4 separate regions of the Homo sapiens genome follow, and all the other regions are linked to region 1. The links are contacts of gene promoters, found by promoter capture Hi-C in blood cells and fetal thymus (Javierre and others, 2016). All regions are on one chromosome and are shown on one strand. Each heading gives the region's core, a stretch centred on a gene start or on the middle of the fragment in contact. The rest is flanking DNA. Distances are from core to core; before and after follow the strand shown. Region 1 holds the start of PTPN21 (protein tyrosine phosphatase non-receptor type 21). Region 2 overlaps GALC (galactosylceramidase). Region 3 overlaps GALC (galactosylceramidase). Region 4 overlaps GALC (galactosylceramidase).

The links. The method cuts DNA at HindIII sites, captures the fragments that hold promoters and counts their contacts. A CHiCAGO score of 5 or more calls a contact.
Region 2: a fragment that was not itself captured here is called in contact with the fragment with the promoter of PTPN21 in region 1 in 4 of 17 cell types (monocytes, M0 macrophages, naive CD8 T cells and 1 more); the score reaches 7.6 in monocytes.
Region 3: a fragment that was not itself captured here is called in contact with the fragment with the promoter of PTPN21 in region 1 in 1 of 17 cell types (total CD4 T cells); the score reaches 5.4 in total CD4 T cells.
Region 4: a contact is called between a fragment that was not itself captured here and the fragment with the promoter of PTPN21 in region 1, in 5 of 17 cell types (erythroblasts, naive B cells, total CD8 T cells and 2 more). The highest score is 7.0, in erythroblasts.

Annotation. Positions count from the first base shown.
Region 1 is chr14:88,553,405-88,556,447 of GRCh38, forward strand. PTPN21 (protein tyrosine phosphatase non-receptor type 21) reads right to left here and starts at 1,603. Exons shown (of 19, transcript NM_007039.4): 1 at 1,247-1,603. It overlaps LOC124903405 (proline-rich protein 2-like), which reads right to left. Exons shown (of 2, transcript XM_047432047.1): 2 at 1,253-1,656. The coding sequence ends at 1,292. RefSeq lists a silencer at 1,561-1,610. The HindIII fragment of the contact is 3,064 bases long and covers 1-2,492 here.
Region 2 is chr14:87,934,630-87,937,672 of GRCh38, forward strand. It overlaps GALC (galactosylceramidase), which reads right to left. Exons shown (of 17, transcript NM_000153.4): 17 at 1-249. The coding sequence ends at 103. Among named protein-coding and RNA genes, the nearest start is that of GALC, 57 kb to the right of the region's middle. The HindIII fragment of the contact is 5,069 bases long and covers 1-3,043 here.
Region 3 is chr14:87,953,684-87,956,726 of GRCh38, forward strand. The region is part of intron 10 of GALC (galactosylceramidase); the gene reads right to left. It also overlaps the pseudogene SHLD2P2. Among named protein-coding and RNA genes, the nearest start is that of GALC, 38 kb to the right of the region's middle. RefSeq lists an enhancer at 1,507-1,676. The HindIII fragment of the contact is 4,341 bases long and covers 1-3,043 here.
Region 4 is chr14:87,972,634-87,975,676 of GRCh38, forward strand. All of the region lies in intron 7 of GALC (galactosylceramidase), which reads right to left. Among named protein-coding and RNA genes, the nearest start is that of GALC, 19 kb to the right of the region's middle. The HindIII fragment of the contact is 800 bases long and covers 900-1,699 here.

The DNA.
Region 1 (3,043 bases), core at 353-2,852:
ATATGCAGTATTTGTTGCCAAATGGTGTAATACAATTATGAATGTCTGAAGATAATAAAACCAAGATGAGTAGAAATTTAAGAGTTCTTTGGGGAGGTCTGTTTCAGGTATAAAATAATATGCAATAATATGAAAGTGATTGGGTCTGGAATTATAATTTACTAAAGTAAACATAATTTATAAATAGCTATTAAAGGAAAACTAGGATATAATTTTTTCTCTACAAAATCTTTCCGTTTTGTGGTAAGTAAACAGATACATACTAGATTCTGCTTCAGTACAAGTTTACAAAAGGCAGTCTGAACTATTTGTGAATTCATTTTAATTTTCCCTCTCTACAACCCTTTCCAAAAGTTCCTCAAATACACTTTACCTCTCAATCTTACAGCGTTTCCCCTTTCCTATTAAGGTCCTTACCACATGTAATTTTGCCAAAGTTGCTTTAAAATAAAATAAGCACTAAAAGGAGAGAGTATGTGACATTTTTAGAGTAATATCTATAGCTATAGCATTAAACCCATGTTTCTCACGGAGAAAACATCTGTGCGTAGATGCTCCAGAATAAAATGCCCTAGAAACGAAACGGACTATATTCAGAGTAAAATTACTGTCGTGTCCCAAACTTAAAAAAATAAATAAACTGTCAGCAACTATTAGGCATACAGCAGTTGTCACTTGGAGCACACGAATGTTCTGAATGTGTTTGTGAGCATACGCTATTAGTATAAGGCTTTCTCAGCAAAAAAGAAAATAGGACGAGCATGCCAAGAGCGGCCAATCTAATCAGGATTTGCAGAAATCACAAGTCGGAATTTGCAGATCCAAGAATTCTTGTTTCCAGAGTAAATACTCTACTCCAAAAACAAACCCAGGCGTTACCAAACAGTCCTTCCCTGCGCCCCTTCTCGCCAAAGTTATCTGGCGAATTTCACGTTTATATATTCTGAGAGGCACAAATATGCCTAACACATTTAAAACCCTGATCCAGAATTAACCCGCAACAATCGGCCAGGGCGTTCGGAATAGAAGTTCAAGACTCCTTTTAGAAATTACTCAAGTATATGAGAGCGAACCTGAAAAACAAGACTTTTCTCTTTGTTACGCTCCCGCTACGGGTCTGGCCGCCGCGCCCCATTCTCCGGGATTCCGGGGCCGCGGGCGCGCTCCGGGGTCCGGGCGAGTGGACACACCCCACCGCTCGGGCCAGCCGCCCGCCCCTCCCGCCGGCCGGGGACCGCGCCCTCACCTGCTCCCGCTCCCGCTCCCGCATCCTCGGGGCCGCGCGCCCCGCTCAGCGACCCGCCTCCCGGGGCCCCGCCGCGCGGCCGCCGCAGCCGCACCCGCACGCCAGCCCGGGCCGCGGCGCGCTCATGGGGCTCGCACGCCTCACTTCCTGTCTCCAAAAACCCGGCTCGCAGACCATTCCCCTGGGCAGAGTCCGGCGGTGGCGACGGCGAGGGGCGAGGCCTGGAGGTGGGACCGGCCGGCGAGGAGCGCCGCACAAAGAAGCCCCGTGGGGGCGGGGGGTGGCAGGAGGACGGACAGACCGTCGGACCGACGCGGGACGCGCGGCCGGAGCAGCGGGGCGGCCGGGCCCAGGCGTCCCTCCCCCTGAGCCGGGCGGGCGGATCCGGGGAGGCGGCGGCGGCCCGTGACCTCAGAGAGTTGGAATGCGGGCAGCCGCGCGGGGGAGGCGCGGACAGCTGCGCCCGGCCGCCGGGGAGGGGGCGCGCCGCTGCTTTTTTTAATCGTATGACCACTTATTTTAAGAGTTTCCAAATAAAGCAAGGCTTTTAATAAAATGAGTGGAGGGGGTATTATTTAGGTTCCAGATAAAGGGTTTTATTCCTGTGTTATTAGGTAGGCTGTAAAATGCTGTTATTGATGGTTATTCGTTTACTCTGGTATATTTCTGAACACTATTGGAATACATTTCTTCTTTTCCTGCTTGCTCCTAAGGTTATGCCCCATATAACTAGACACTTCCAGTACTGGGTGGGAAAGCCCCCCCACCAAAAATGGTTCATATGCCTCAAATAACCTGTCAGTCCCCAAAAGGGAGCTGTCTGCTTATGCAATATAGAGCAGAACTGTTAAGGATGGAGACTTGACAAAGTTGTCAAATCCCAGCTCCAACATTTACTAGCTGGATGACCTTGTGCAAGTTTCTTAACTTCTCTTTACCTGTTTCCTCTCCTATAAAAGAGGGATATTAATATCTTTGCACAGCAGGGGTGGGGGAAATAAATACTAAGCAATATCCAATAACTTGTGTAAAGTATATATGAAGTGTTTCGTTTAAGGTTTATTATACAGTATTCTTGTACTGCATTATTACTGTATTGCAGCACTTAAGCTGAGGAATAAAACTGTGTGACCCTACCACTATTACAATAGTGTAAGATCTTTTCTTGGCATGTGGAACACAGAACCTTTTAATTTATGTAAATTTTAATTTCAGTGATTTTGTTTTAATGCTGTTGTTTCTGGAAAGCTTTTTAAAGTATTGTTTCATGTAAATCTCATTTTCTTAAACAATTAACAAAAACTTTTGAATACTTAACTCTGCATGAGACGTGGTCCCTGCACAACACGGACTTTTGGTTTAGTGGGTGATAAACGCACCTGCACACCACACACGCAGTACAAGGCCAAAGTGGGGAGCATTGTCATAGAGGTATGAGTGCTATCCAAGAGCAAAGCCCAGCAAGGTGCATCTTGGGTCGTTTAGCTAAAGGCAAATAAGATTACCTGTGTTTCTAAGGGAAAAAAAATAGATCAATTCTGTTTGTAATTGATATTTCAACTGAACTCTATGAGGGGGTCAATTTGTGTGTGAGCAAAGAAAAGAGATCTAAAAAGAAGTCACTTTGCTGGCTTCCCAAGGTAGAAAAACTGGAATCATGTGTGACTTCTCCCATTATCATCTCCAGCCTGTCATCAAGACCTGGTATTTCCTCCTTTGAAATGTCTCATGAATTCTTTGTTTCCTTTCTGTTCCCCCTGGAACATTCTAAATCCAAACCCTCATCATTTTACATCC
Region 2 (3,043 bases), core at 1-2,500, 620 kb before region 1:
AAAAGCCTCATATACTGTTCCAATGAAACAAGAATTGGCTCTGAACCAAAACCAAAAAGAAGGGAAGAAAATCCAGAGTATTCTATGATGCCCTGTTAAGTATTAGCGTGTGGCTTCCACAAGAAAGTTGTCAAACTGTGCAAATTCAAAGGAGTGAGTTCCAATTGCAGCCCAGCCATTCTTTGGAAAATTCACAGGGATGTCTGTCCACAGAGACTTGTCATTCAGCATGCCAGAGGTGAAATGACCCTAGAGTAGAAAGAAACACATTCCTTGAAACCATATGAAAATGGTCCTCTGAAGTCTGTTTCTTGATCATGTATGGCCCACTACTTAGTGGAGCAAATGTACTACTCACTCAAGACTTAACCACAGCAAAACACAATTCCACAAGTTTGAGCAAAAGTTTAAAATACAGGAAAAAACTCTAGGAAGAAATTCTTATCTACCTACTTAAATCGTTCCCAAAGTACAAGGAATACCTCAATATTTCCTGTGCTCCACCAAAATTTAAAACCAACAAAATGCAAAACTTTTCAGGCATTATTATAAAGTTTTAGAAAAAAGCTCATTAAAATTTAACAAAAGTTATTTATAAGTAGTCACATGTACAAGTGGTGTGGCTAACAGCCACCAGCTCTTCAGACATGACTGCTGGAGTCAAAACATCTGCTTCTACCTCATTGCTTCCTTAAGGTTTTCATTAAGGAGCCTCTGCCCAGCCAGAAGAAAAATAATTAACCTTAGTTTTTGTGTTTTGTTGCCATGAATAGAATATCACTTCAAAGCCATATGAAGCTCCTACCCTTAAGTTGGAAAAACAGTAACCATCAGTTAAAGTGATGCTGGAGTAGGGTGCAGCGGGTGGAAGAAGGGAGGCATCTATAAGGTGTGACTTACTGGTCACTGACAGTGAAAGAAAAAATTACACCTTCCTCCGAATGTTGCCATTCTACTTAGCTCAGTGCCTGGCACATGGTAAACAATAAATCTCAGCTCTTATTATCTTTATGATAGTACATTTATGAGCACATATTCACAGCATACTAACTACAGTCAATCATATAAAACTAGCTACTCTCAGAAGGTGAAGAGCTCAAAACTCAAAGCACTGGGCCAAGAACCAGAATAAATCTGCTTTTAAGTCTTGGAAGTATAACGTAATGGGCCTTAATTTAGTTCTTTTATTTTATGCGTGGAAACACTGAGGCTTAATAGATTAAAGCTCAAAGTCACAGGTTTTCACTCCAAGTTACCTAGCTCCAAATTCAGAGCCACATTCCTATTACTACAGACTTGCACAGCTATCTTCAGCTCTAGAAGTGCTTACTGAACATCTTCTGCTGCCATCAAACACTCAATATTAACACCGAGCCAAGGGACTCAAATCACAGATCACATTAAGCACAAAACCTGTCTAACAGGACCTTATCTCTCCTGACTCCCCAGACTTCAGCCACCCCAGCCTCCAGGCTGCTCTTCACACAATGTCAGCTACACCTGCCTTTTGCACCTGCCACTTGGTCTGCTCAAATTGTTCTTCCCAGCATTCAGGTCTGCACTCAAGTACTACCCACTCAGTGAGGTCTTTCCTCACCTCCCTGGTTAGAGAATCAGGGTAACAGAGCTACTTTATCTCATGACTCTATTTTTTCTTCATAATCATTTATAAACTTATTTACAAGTTTATTATCTCAGGATAGGGCTCAGCAAACTATGACCTACATGCCAACCGCCCTTTTTTTAATAAATAAAATCTTACTGAAACACAGCCACATCCATTGTCTATGGCTTTTTTTCTCATTATTGTCTATTGTCTATGGCTTTTTTACTCATTACAATAGCCGAACTGGGTAGCCACAGCAGAGACCACATGGCCCACGAAGTCTAAAATATTTACTATCTGGCCCTTTACAGAAAAAGTTGCCAACCCCTGTCCTAGAAGAATATATGCTCTAAGAGAGCAGGAATCTTGTCTGTTTCGTTCGCTGCTGTATCCCTAGGACTTAGTAAAGTGCATACAGTAGGGGCTTAATAAAAATGTGTTGAATATAAGAATGAAACACATTTAACCCTCAAAACAACCTCACAGAAGTTATCTCCATTTTGCAGATAAGGAAATGGATACTCAAAGAGGTGGAATAACTTGCTAGAAGTCTCAGCATGTGTTAGTGAGGAAATACGAATGCTGGTCTGTCTGGTTCCAAACACTCCTACTCCTAAAAATATTAACTTGACTCATTAAGTGCTTACCACATATCAGGTACTATATATATATATATATTTATTTATTTTCTCATTGAATCTTCATAAGAAAAGTGTTCTTCATGATATCATGGATGGGAAAATTGAAGCTGTGCAATATAAAATACTTGCAAGTAGAATATAGTAGACTTCAAAGTCCATTGTGCTACCCACCATGCAACAGAACTGGGACAAGTCACCTGACAAGTGCTGAGAAGAATTCAACAGGTGGCTGATAGTCAGTGACAAAATCCTCACATTAGCTGTAATTTGGAATATGGGCAACATAGAAGATGATGTTTTGTTTTTTTTATTTACGCAAAGAAGATTTATATGTCAAATACTGTTTAATGCACTGGGAATTTAAGATGAACAAGAAAGACAAGGTCCCTGCTCTTATGGAGCTTATATTCTAGTAGGAGATGGACAGATATGCACACACACACAAAATGAGAGCTAAAAGATAAGTAGCATGTAAAAATTAAGCCAGGTCAAGGTGACAATGGGTGCCTGACAGACTACTTTAGTGCAGATAGTTACAGAAGACCCTCAGAGTATGTGGCAAAAGCTGAGATTCAAGAGGAAACAGAATGCCCATAGTTGATGAAACACAAAATAACAGGAGTAGGGGAGTGAGGTGGGTGCAAGCCAGCAAAGTCCTATCCATCCTAGTAGCAAGACAAGAGCCAATTTTTAAAAGTAATGAATCACATTGTATTAAAGACACACCAGAAGAAACAGCTAAAATAGTGAAGAGTGGCTGTATCAGAAGTACAAGACACAGAATGGGGTCAAGAAG
Region 3 (3,043 bases), core at 140-2,639, 600 kb before region 1:
TAGCTAAGAAAATGAAGTTGATTTCTAATGCAGGAGATTCTGTTGTAGAAATGGATCAGAGGAATGTGTCTGAATTTAAGGGTATTAAAAAAAGTCATTAATAAAAAACTGTGATTCTAAAAGCCAGAAGTATGATTGTTTAGTCATGGTGCTATCTCCATGTCATGTGAAGGAAATAAACATAAAATTCGGACCAAATTCTGGCTCTAAAGTGCCTTTAGCAACAGTTACAGTAATTGATCAATCAGAAACTAAGAAGGTTTTTCTGTAGAGGACTGCAGCATTTTGGGCATATACAGTGTTTCTTGGAGATATAATTTTACTCGCAGATGTTGTTATTCATGAGGACCAATGGGTTGGCGAGACAGTACTACAATCAACATTTAGCAGTCAGTTATTAAATCTTGGGAGTTATTCATCTATTCAGCCTGAAGAATATTCCAGTGTAGTTAGTGATGTTGTACTTCAAGACCTACTGGCACAGGTGTCCTCAAAACATTCCTACCTCAGAGATCTTCCTCCGAGGCAGCCTCAGAGGGTGAACAGTATAGACTTTATAGAATTGGAGCACCTTCAGCCTGATGTATTAGTCCACACAATACTAAGAGTTGTTGATTTCACTATACTGACAGAGGCAGTATACAGTTATAGAGGACAGAAGCAGAAAAAGTTATGTTAACAGTGGAACAGGCCCAAGATCAACATTATGTGCTTGTATTATGGAGTCCTGGAGCAGCCTGGTACCCTCAACTGCAAAGGAAAAAAGGTTATATTTGGGAATTTAAATATCTTTTTGTTCAGCGCAATTACACACTAGAAAACCTAAAATCGCATACAATGCCTTGGTCATCCTGTGAGTGCTTGTTTGATGATGATGTAAGGGCAATTACATTTAAAGCAAAATTTCAAAAAAGTGCACCTTCCTTTTGGAAGATATCAGACTTAGCAACCCACCTAGAGGATAAATGTTCAGGAGTGGTTCTAATTAAAGCCCAGATTTCAGAGCTGTCATTTCCTATTACGGCAGCTCAGAAGATAGCTCTAAATGCTCACAGTTCTCTGAAGAGTATTTCTTTTCTTCTCTTCCCAACATCATATATACTGGCTGCGCAAAATATGGATTGGAACTAGAAACAGATAAGAACAGGATCTACAAACAATGTTTTAGCTGCTTGCCATTTACTATGAAGAAAATATACTATAGGCCAGCTTTAATGACTGTAGTTGATGGAAGACATGATGTTTACATCCGTGTAGACTCAAAGCTGATAGAGAAGATTCTTCTCAACATTTTTGCAGACTGCCTCAACAGAGTGATAGTTACTTCCTCAGAGATCACCTATGGGATGGTCATGGCAGACCTGTTACACTCCTTGTCGGCAGTCAGCGCAGAACCTTGTGTATCAAAGATTCAGAGCCTTTTTGTGTTAGATGAAAGCAGCTATCCATTACAACAAGATTTCTCCCTCCTGGATTTTTATCCTGACACTGTAAAGCATGGAGCCGATGCCCTTTTCTGAGGCCAGAGGAAGAAATGGCAGGCATTTCAAGGAAGAAGTACTGAAATGATTTGTCTTTTGAAGTAAATAAACGATAGGGTTTTTGCTTTGGATTTTTTATTAAATACATTTTACAAAGAGAATTTCAATTAAAACTTTTTTCTAAGAAAATCCTGTGAGGTTTAAAAAGATTATTTTTGTTTTTTGGTTTCTTCCTTTCTTCTGGAGAAATGATCTACCAGTCAAGGCAATATGTAGCAGATCCCTGGGAATTAAAGGTTTGCCCATTTGTTCACTGTATTTAGTCCCTGCTACGTTCCAGGCATTGTACTAAGTATGAGGAACCACAGGGAAGACATTCCCTCAGAAACTGCTGCAGTGCTTTTACTTATCCCTACCTAAAAACCGTCAATGTGAAATCATTTCCTTGATTACAACTATACATGATAATGGATTAGTTTATATAAACCTCTGTTTAGACAAGTTCAAGACAAGCGTGTCTTTCTATAAAAAGCATTGAAAACGAAGGAAATGAGATCATGTTTCAATTTATTAAAGCGGGGAAGAGCGTTCTGTGGTTAGTTCGTGTCTAGGATTTGAGTGCCTTACTGAATGTATTTAGCAAACATGTAGCAATCTGTTCTCTCACTGTGATTGTAGAAGAAGCTCATGTAAAATGATAGTCATTAATGAGGAAGTATAGAGTGGTACTTATTCTGTAAGTTCAGAGTATGCCGAGTATTAATAGATTATCATACTGCCTGAAAATAAATTTATGATGAAATGAAAAAAAAAAGTGACAGTTTAAAAAAAAAAATCTCCTGTGGTCAGAAGAAAACTAAAACACTAACTTCAAACCACCCCTGAAAATGAGCTGGAATTTAATTGGATCAGTCTTTGGAACAATTTAAGTCCCCAGGGCATTGTTTAAAACAATACAGAAATCCACCAGCAATTAGTGTAACTTACAGTGAGGTGTGATCAAGGAACCAGACAGAGTCCTGGAAAAACAAATCCCAGGGTGACTGTGGATATGCCCAAAACCACATTCTCCAAGGAGCAACATTTCAGGCTTTACAGTGTGTGGAGGGGAAGAAGGAGGGAACAGAGTTAACTAAAATACTCCAGCAAATCACTAAGTAAATAAATAAACAACAACAAGCCTCAAGGGGGAGAGGATCAATGCCCAGAGTTGATAGCATATATTATATACGAGTTGCTACCATATATTATATATAAGGTCCAGTTTCCAACAACACACACAAAAAATGAGACATTCAAAGAAATAGGCATTATTTCATTCTTTCTATGCTGAAGAGTATTTCATGATGTGTGTGTGTATATGTATATACATACACCATATATATATACACGCACCATATATATATATATACACACACACCATATATATACACACACACACACACACACACACACACCATATATATATGGTATATATATATTTCCTTTATCCACTCATCAGTTGATGGGCACTTAGGTTGATTCCATATGTTTCAATTGTGAATTGTGCTACATAAACATAT
Region 4 (3,043 bases), core at 50-2,549, 580 kb before region 1:
TTATTTTCAAAAACACACTTTGGAAATGAAGGCTAAACTAGAAGGAACATAAGACAGAACAGACACTGTGGAAAACACAGTGAGGAATATAGAATAGTAAGGATAAAATAATAGAAAACATAAATAAAGAGATAGAGAAAAATTCAGAGAAATACAAAATAAAGGCATATGCAAATAAGACCAAAGTATAACTGGTGCTTCTAAAAAGAAAACCAAAGTAATGGAGTGGAATAATGATTTAACTTATAACTTAAGTAAACCTTACTGAAATAAGAAAATACTTAAATATAGACATTAAGAGAGCATATACTATATATCTGGAAATGGTAAAGTGTATACAACAACTAAACTTTAAAGATGAATAAAAATATTCTTTGGGCATAAAGGAATTGTGTCGTTACTTATAAGGAAAAGGAAATATCTCTGGAGTCAAAATTCTCAATAGCAACATTTTATGTAAATAACTAATGGAGCAAATTTTATGATATATTTACACATATTTGAGAATTAAAAAAGGATTATATCCAGTCAAACTGTCCTTCAAGTATAAAGGTCATAGATAAACATCAACAAACATCTGAACACATCAAGAAATATTGTTTCCATTAGCACTTTCTGAGACATTTAATAGATAATTACACTTCTGATATCCAAGAAAATGAGGGAGAAACTTTGGCAAAGGACTTGAAGGTGAGCATTTAATATGTTTAATGGTAGAGTGAGATTAAAAGAAATAGTAATTAAATTATATATATAACTATTACACACTTGGCTAAAGTACAACTAATACAGCTACATGAAGTAGGACAAGAAGGAAAGAAGGTGAAATGTAAACTAAGTTTGCAGATTATTTGGGAGTAAACAGTTAAAACTTGTAGCTGTCAAATCAATATAGTAGAAGCTTAAGTTCATGTAAGAGTACAAAAATTAAAACTAAGATAATTCTGGTAATTAAAATTCCACGGTAGGGGAGAAAAAGGGAGGAAGAAGTTATCAAATAATTTTAGTATTGCTCATAGTAAACCAACAGACAATAACTAAACGAAGAAGAAACCAAGAGTATTAGTATGAAGCAGTTCCTCAACCTCAGCACTATTAACATTTTGGGCTGGATCATTTTTTGTTATGGGAAAACTATCCTGTGTACTAAAGGATGTTTAGAAACATTCGTGGCCTCCATCCATCGGATTCCAGTGGCACCGCCCTACCTATTTGTGGCAATTAAAAATATTTCCAGGCATTGCCAAATGTCCGTCTGGGAGGCAAAATTATTCTCAGTTGAAAATACTGGTATAAATCAGTATAAATGTAATTGACAGAACAAAAACCAAACCTTGCTAAATAACAAAAGAAACACCTCCTTAAATAAGTGCAAAGTAAACAAATCACATAGCAGAATAGCTTGTATTAGTACATGGATAGTATAAATCATTCAATAACAAAAGACAATATAGTAGTATAGAAAACACAAACATCAGTTATATTTAAAAATGAGTTTAACTCATTCATTAAAATATAAAGATTTTCAGAGGAACTTTAAAAAAGCAAAATCTAACTCTATGCTATATGCAAGCAATGCACATAAAAGAAAACGGCCTTGAAAGGTAAAGAATAAAAGGGCAAAAATATATTAGGCAAATCCTAATGAAAAGAAAGCATAGATCTCTTAGTTACACAGAAAGCAGAACTCAGGCCAAGAAGCTTTAAACGAGACAAAGAATGGCATTTTCTAATGATAAGAAATAAATCATAATGAAGATAAAACATTCATCAGTATTTACATACCAAATAACAAAGCAGAAGCTTCCAGTATTTACGTACCAAATAACAAAGCAGAAGCTTCCACACAGCAAAAACTGCCTAAGATTGAAAGGAGAAATAGACCCCACTAACATAAGGAAACAAACACACCTGGGTAGCCCTGAACAGTTCAAGTGGACAAAATCGTTAAGATACAAAATACCTGAACAATATAACCAAAAGGTTATATATAAACTCAATTCTGTATCCTAATAAAGAATACATCTTAATAAATCAAAATATGCTCTTGAGATAGTCAAGAAAAAAGCGAAGGTATTTTTTCAGATTTTTTTTTAATAAGCTCCTGAGAAATTTCCCAAAAAAATGTAAATAATACATTTGGTATTAAATGGCCACAGTGCAATAAAATTAGAAATTAATGATAAAACAGCCCTATGAGATAAAACTAAAGCAGTACTCAGAGGAAAATTCATTACATTAAAATACCTATATCAATAAAAAATGAAGTACATATCCAAGTCCTTCATGAAGATACAGTAAAACCCATATTTTCATGCAATATTTTTATAAGAAAATATATTTAAGATTAACACAACTTTGTTTTCCTTCAAGACTTCAACTATTTATGAAAGCTTTAACAACAGCAAAACTTTCATTTTAATTTCAATGTATAAAATGTTTAAATATAATTAAGAAATTTTATCTTGCAAAAAAAAATTAAGCCTAAATCTAACCTAACCTAAATCTAACCTAAACTACCAATTTCAAAAACCATTGAAAAAGGATAGATGAGCAAGTTATATTAAACTGTAGGGGTTGAAATCAGTAAAATCCAGACTGACACAAAGTTTGTAAGACAAACAACCCCGTTCTTCAACAAATTAAAAGAAAGAAAAAGAGCAAGAACATAAAGATTAGAATAGATTTAAATATCAACCAATCACCATGCATGAATTTTAAATGGATCTAGATTCAATCAAATAAAACTATAAGATAATAATGGATATTTAATATCAAAAACTATTACATTTTAGGTATAATAATGGTATTGTTTATGGTAAGTAGAAAAATAATCCTTATCTTTGGAGACACATACACAGTAATATTTTTATGGAAGAAATAATGTCTGGGATTTCTTTCAAAGTAATGTAGGCAGGAAAGGAAGAGGAGTAGATAGACGCATGGATGAAGAATTGGTCATGGATTCACAGTTCAAGAGGTTGAGTGATAAGAACATAGATATTCATTGTATTATTCTGCCTATTTTTGTGTACATTCAAAA